2 separate regions of the Homo sapiens genome follow, and region 1 is linked to region 2. The links are contacts of gene promoters, found by promoter capture Hi-C in blood cells and fetal thymus (Javierre and others, 2016). All regions are on one chromosome and are shown on one strand. The core of a region is centred on a gene start or on the middle of the fragment in contact, and the rest is flanking DNA. Distances in the headings are between cores, read along the strand shown.

Region 1 (3,172 bases), core at 40-2,539, 140 kb before region 2:
CTTGGGTTTTTGCTTCTTTAATTCTTTGGATAATTTTGGTTCACCATTATTTGATTTGAAAAAGCAGCGCTCTTCCATGTATTCATTTCCCAGCCTTGTTTTCTTTCAGGTCTTGCCTCTGCGCTCTCCTGCTGTGCCGCTGGGTGGCGCTGCGCCTCCTCCACCCGCTTCGCCCCCATCTAAGCTCCGTCTCCGGCCGTAGACAGCCTGAGGAGGCCGCCAGCCCTTTCACATGAAATCAGCCTGCTTTGTTTTTGTTTTAATTTGGTCTTTGATTCCTTTTACTGTTGGCAGAAACAATGTTAATTCCTGGGCCTCTTCCTTGCTAAATTTTGGGGTGGGGGGTGCACTGTGATCCATGAGGGATGCAATGAGAATGGAGGCTGCCTTCCGTGGTGGTGGTTGCCTTTTGATCATGTCTGTGGCTCAGGAGAGGCTGCCGGGTGCCAAGCTGTGTGAATGCCGAGTGGGTCAGCACCACAGAGCCTGCAGGGCCTCTAGCGCGGGGGCAGAGGGTAGGGGCAAGCGCAGGCCTGATGGGAGGGAGGGCCGTGGAGGGGTGCAGGCAGAGCTCGGGTCAGCTGAGCACGTGTCTAGACAACCTCGGTGCTGTGCAAGCCTGAGGGGAATCAGGCCCGGGCCAGGCCGGGCATGGGAGGAGTCGGCTCACTGCCACCTCACAGCTCACCTCACTGCCACCTCAGGGCCTCGTGTCCTCTCTTGCAGGAGGTCCCAGGTGATTGAAAAGTTTGAGGCCTTGGACATTGAGAAGGCAGAGCACATGGAGACCAATGCAGTGGGGCCCTCACCATCCAGCGACACACGCCAGGGCCGCAGCGAGAAGAGGGCGTTCCCTAGGAAGCGGGTGAGCTCCTGGGGCTGGGCAGCACCTCAGGGGTGGCTCGGGGGCGGGTCAGCATGCACCCCATGCGCCAAGTCCCCTCCACACAGGCCTGGGATGTGCTCCTGCCAGGCTTCTCTCCAACCACCTCCTCTGCATAGTGACTTCTTGAGAGCAGGCCTGTCTCCTGCAGCTTCATATCAGAGCCTTCTCCGTCTCTGCTGAAGGATATTCTCATGCATTTTAGATCCCAGATTTAATTAGGATCACTCTCTTCCTATCTGAGACAGCCCAGCAACAAGGCTGAATGTCACACCTTCCTAACTCTTTCTTTCAGTACAACTACACCCCTCGTTTCTCCACTCAGCCCAAGGTAGACTCGGCTTCTGAAATCCTCCTGGGCACCCGCCTGCTGCTTTTGTAGCCGGCCAAGTCTAAGCTCATCTTCTCCTGGCTTCTCTCTTGTTCACAAGGTGCCTAGTGCCTACTGTCTGGCCCACAGCTTGCCACCTGCCACCACAGAGCCCAGGGCTCTTCCTTCTGTGACCCAGAGAAGCTGGAGGATGGGGTGGGGCCAGGAAAGTGACAGTGACTGGGAATCCAAAAGAAAAGGCTGCTCTATCAACCAGGGCATCTCAGGACCCGGGTCCTGTCCTGGCCCTGCTGCAGACTTGCTATGGTGGCTAGGCAGATCACTGCCCCTCGCCAGGAGCAAGGCCCTGGCGGCTCTTGGAGGGGTGGACAGCACCAGCTCGTCCCTCACATGCCCACATTGCCCTGGGCTGCACTGACCAGCGGCTGCTCTCTGCCACAGGACTTCACCAATGAAGCCCCCCCAGCTCCTCTCCCAGACGCCTCGGCTTCCCCCCTGTCTCCACACCGAAGAGCCAAGTCACTGGACAGGAGGTCCACGGAGCCCTCCGTGACGGTGAGCCCAGGCGCCGCGTCCTCCGGAGGCCGTGCTCCTCTGCTTCTGGTCACTCTGAGGCGCTGTCTGTTTCTGTCTATGCGTCCATGCCAGCTGTCCCTCTGTGCACAGGCCCTCGTGTCCGTGAGCACCCCCACCCACCGACCCACAGGCCGTCGAACACAGATTCTGTTTCTTCCCTTTTCTGGTCCCAGCAGAACCAAGGGCTCCATGGCATCCTGAGCTCTGGGAGGAGGCCCTGCGGAGGAGGCCACCTCGGGCTAGGCAGACTCCCGACTCTAGGCGGCAGGGCTGCAGCAGGGACCCTCCGCTCCTCTGGCTTTGGGCATTGCTTTTTGTGGCACTTCGGAGGCAGAGGCCACGTCTTGCTGGAGCTTGTCTCGTTCTCCGTGTCATGCCTCAAGTGGAAGAGCAGGCCTTGCACCAGGTTCTCCATGGGCCTCAGAGCTATGACAACAGAGGTGCGGAAGGAGTGGTCAGGGTACAGGAGCAAGGCCAACTCAGCATGCTGACCCAGCTCCTACCCGCTCTGTCTTCAGCCTCCAGGGGAGCCTGGGGCCTGCTCACTGCCTCTTGTCTCCTCCTTGCTGCCTGCACAGCAGCTCACCATGGGCCTCCGGCCTGCCCCAGGGCTTGGGGGCTGCCAACCACAGATTGATGTGTAACATGGAGTGTGAGGAGGAGTAAGGTTTGGGTTTTTCCTTCAGTCTGGGTTTTGCTTCAGGTGTCTTGAACAAAACTCCTTGTTTCTCTGTTAACTTAGCTGGGAGCGCCTTCCCCAACAGAGAACACCAGCAGGGAACCCACCTGCATAGGCCTTGCCATTGGGGTCAGATTGCAGGCTTGGCTTCAATGGCACAACCATGATATGGAAATTACGAGTTTTTGTTAAAGATCTGCAAGCTAGGCCGGGCACGGTGGCTCACGTCTGTAATCCAAGCACTTTGGGAGGCCGAGGTGGGCAGATCACGAGGTCAAGAGATCGAGACCATCCTGACCAACATGGTGAAACACTGACTCTACTAAAAATACAAAAATTAGCTGGGTGTGGTGTCGCGCTCCTGTAGTCCCAGCTATTTGAGAGGCTGAGGCAGGAGAATCGCTTGAACCCGGGAGGCGGAGGTTGCAGTGAGCTGAGATCGCGCCACTGCACTCCGGCCTGGCGACAGAGCGAGACTCCGTCTCAAAAAAAAGAAAGATCTGCAAGCTAAGCAGGCTGTCAGAGAGGGGGCAGGTGGCAGTCCCACGTCTCAGGTCCTGTGCCGCAATGGCAACTACAAGCTTGCAGGAGAGGACCTCCCTATTTAAGGGCTACTTGGGGTAGGGTGTCCTAATTTCACAGTGTTGCTTTTGATTGGGTGCTTCAAATAACTCTGGCGGCAAGGACAGTTGCACAGCTTGGC
Region 2 (3,572 bases), core at 410-2,909:
GAGGTAAAAGCACCCCTCCATTTTTACAATGGAGATGCAAAAGACTCAGAGATTAAAGGTTATTTGTCCAAGGTCAAGCAGCTCCTAGAACTTTGCAATTAATGACGGTAACAATAATTTGCAGCTATATTTATTGCACCCCTTATGACAGGCACTGTTCCAACTGCTTTTACATGGTTTCTCTCATTGAATCTTCACAACTCTACATAAACTAGGGACTTATTTTGCAGACGAAGAAACTGAAGCACGGGATAGTTAAAAGGGCCTTCACAGCCAGCATCTAATCATTCGAATTTCAGGTCCAGAATTCGGTACATTCATACGCAATGAATGAACCAAACAACCTGGAAAGTGCGAGTAAAATCATCACAATTCTACCCCTAGAAATGGAGTCCTGGCCGGGCGCAGTGGCTCACGCCTGTAATCCTAGCACTTTGGGAGGCCGAGGTGGGCGGATCACTTCAGGTGAGGAGTTCGAAACCAGCTTGGCCAACATGGTAAAAACCCCATCTCTATTAAAAATACGAAAAAATTAGCCGCGTGGGCTGGCCGCGGTGGCTCATGCCTGTAATCCCAGCACTTTGGGAGGCCGAGGCCAGTGGATCACCTGAGATCAAGGTTCGAGACCAGCCAGGCCAACATGGTGAAACCCTGTCTCTACTAAAAATACAAAAATTAGCCGGGCAGGCGCCTGTAATCCCAGCTACTCGGGAGGCTGAGACAGGAGAATCGCTTGAACCTCGAAGGCGAAGGTTGAGGTGAGCCGAGACCGCGCCACTGCACTCCAGCCTGGGAGACAGTGAGACTCCGTCTCAAAAAAAAAAAAAGCCGTGTGAGCTGGCGGGCGCCTGTAATCTCAGCTACTCGGGAGGCTGAGACAGGAGAATCGCTTGAAGCCGGGAGGCTGAGGTTGCAGTGAGCCGAGATCGCGCCACTGCACTCCAGCCTCGGCTAAAAAAAAACAAAGAAGAAGAAATGGAGTCCTACGAGCGAGAGCTTCCGCAGCATTCTGTAGGACCAAAATAGGCGCACAGGTTCCCGAGCGTGCGCCGCCTGGCAGCGGAGGAGCTGGCAGAGGCGAGCCATAGAGCCAAGACACCCAGAACGGACTCGCCTCCCGCCCGCTCCCGGCGGCCTAGTCAGCAAGCTGCGGATCGGCGGCAAAGATGACATGGCGGTGCGCCAATCACCGAAGGCAAGAGAGACAGAAGGAACCAATAGTCGCCCGAGATGGCTCCTGGCGGAAGTCACGCCCCCAAACTGTCAAGCAAAGCGCCCGGTGGAAGGGGCCCAGGCCGGGGGGAGGGGGCTCCCGGCGGCCCGAGGGAGGGGAGGCCGGCCGGCGAGGACAGCGGAGCGCGAGGGGGCTGCCTACACTCGGCCGCGCTCGATCCTGCCCTGATCTAAACGCCGCAACCCCAAGCCCGGCCCCGGAGAAGAGTCTCAGGACTAAAAGGGCTGTTCCAGCCGTCCGTGCTGGCGCCTGGGGATCCAGGCCAGTTCCCGGTACCCGCCCATGCCCAGCCCGGCGGCCTAGGGCGTTACCTTGAGCTGAGAGCTGTCGGACACTGTTCACGAACTGCTCCAGGGCAGACGCCATGTTTTCCCCCGGGCGGCCCGAGCGGCGAAGGCAGCACGCGCGGGAAAAGGCTGCCGCTCTGGGAGGAGGGGCCGCGGCGATCCACCTGAGGTCCTCGCGAGCGGCGACGTCACTTCCGCTGGTTCAAGCACCGCGAGACTATACCTAGCTGCCCACCCGTTACTGTTTCCATGGAAACAGCCTGAATTCGCCGTAGCCGGAAATTAGTGTTCCATAGTCCCCTGCATCTTTATTCACTGCACTTCTGAAATCCCTCCGCAGGTTAAATGGGGATAGTGGGCAAAAGAAGGAAGGAAACTCATAATTAAGCAAGTATTTTCTGGTTCTGGATTTTGCTAGAGAGGCCCTGCGGTTTTCCACCTGGACAGATACTTCAATGAAGCACAACTTCGTTGCCACGTCTCCCGTGAGGTTTTCCCCGTGATATTAGACTCTGGAGCCAAGCAGCCTGGGTTCAACTGCCTTTTCTACCACTTAGTAGCTGTGTGACGTTGAGCGGGTCACTTGACTGTCGTGTGCATTGTTTTCCCCATCTGTAAAATCTTAGTGTCCTTAACCACGTAAAACACTTAGGACAGTGCATAGGACGTAGGGAGAACTATAGTTATTCATTCAAGGTGTACGTTGAATGAATCGATCCCTTCCCTGCAAAAAATAAATAAATAAGTAACACCACACACAGAAAGTGAATTGATTTTTCCCATCTGGGATTGATGTCTCCCTCCTCCGCTTGTCGCCTAAAGCACTTTGTTCTTCTCATGTTGCACTTCTACTCTGTTACAGAAATGTGTCTCTATAGTCCATGTGATATCTGTAAACCAAAAATAAAAGTCTAAGCCCCCCAACTGACTGGTGGACCCTATCTGAAGCCAAGGACATTCCAATTTATCCTGAAAAACTAGTTCAGGCCATGATGGGAAGTGGTAGTCAGACATGCCTCACAAACATCAACACAGAGACCTTAAGACTGGTAGACTCAAGACTGATAAGAAATATTTACAATCTATTCTGTCTGAATAGCAGGCTACCTGGAAGCCTCATCTGCATGATAAAACCTTGGTCTCCACAACCCCTTATAATCATAACCCAGATATTTCTTTCTATTTACTTCCAGGTCTTTAGATAATAACTCTTTCAACCAATTACCAATCAAAAAATCTTTAAGTCTACCTATAAGGTAGAAGCCCCCCACTGCCCCGAGTTAGCCCGTCTTTCCGATCCTAACCAACGTACATCTTACATGTATTGATCGATGACTCATGTCTCCCTAAAATGTATAAAACCAAACTGTACCCGCACCTTGGGCACATGTCCTGAGGAGCTCCTGAGGCCGTGTTATCATCGCATCCTTCACCTTGGCAATATAAACTTTCTCGATTGAGACTGGTCTCAGATACTTTTGGTTTACGGATCCATTGCTTCTAACTGGCATGGAGTTCCTTAAGGTCAAGCATTTCTCTTACTAACCTTGGTTCCCCTTTAGGGCCCAGCATAGGATTTGCTGCATAGTAGGGACTGAGAAAATAAACATGCATTTTAAAATTTTATCCAACATATGTTTACTGACACTTACAATGTGTTGTACCAGGCACTAGAAATACAGTGGTAGTAAAAACAGTCTTGGGGCCTGGTGCAGTCTCTCACGCTTGTAATCCAGCACTTTGGGAGACTGAAGCAAGTGGATCACTTGAGGTCAGGGGTTGGACACCAGCCTGGCCAACATGGTGAAAAGCCATCTCTACTAAAAATACTACAAAAATTAGCTGGGCTTGGTGATGGGTACCTGTAGTCCCAACTACTCGGGAGGCTGAGATGGGAAAACCTCTTGAACCCGGGAAGTGGAGGTTGCAGTGAGCCGAGATGGCACCACTGCACTCCAGCATGGGCGACAGAGCAAGAATCTGACTCAAACAAAACAAAACAAAACAAAACAGTTTCGGTCCTTCTCTCCTGCAGACAACACATGAAGACC

Evidence for each region. Contacts are between HindIII fragments. The CHiCAGO score rates a contact against its expected background, and 5 or more counts as called.
Region 1: a contact is called between a fragment that was not itself captured here and the fragment with the promoter of COPS3 in region 2, in 1 of 17 cell types (naive CD4 T cells). The highest score is 6.8, in naive CD4 T cells.

Annotation. Positions count from the first base shown.
Region 1 is chr17:17,141,901-17,145,072 of GRCh38, forward strand. MPRIP (myosin phosphatase Rho interacting protein) reads left to right here. Exons shown (of 24, transcript NM_001364716.4): 8 at 727-865; 9 at 1,656-1,769. Among named protein-coding and RNA genes, the nearest start is that of PLD6, 63 kb to the right of the region's middle. RefSeq lists enhancers at 61-603, 604-1,145. The HindIII fragment of the contact is 3,518 bases long and covers 1-3,048 here.
Region 2 is chr17:17,279,587-17,283,158 of GRCh38, forward strand. COPS3 (COP9 signalosome subunit 3) reads right to left here and starts at 1,660. Exons shown (of 12, transcript NM_003653.4): 1 at 1,546-1,660. The coding sequence starts at 1,600. RefSeq lists enhancers at 1,048-1,107, 1,758-1,857 and a silencer at 1,298-1,537. The HindIII fragment of the contact is 7,073 bases long and covers 1-3,572 here.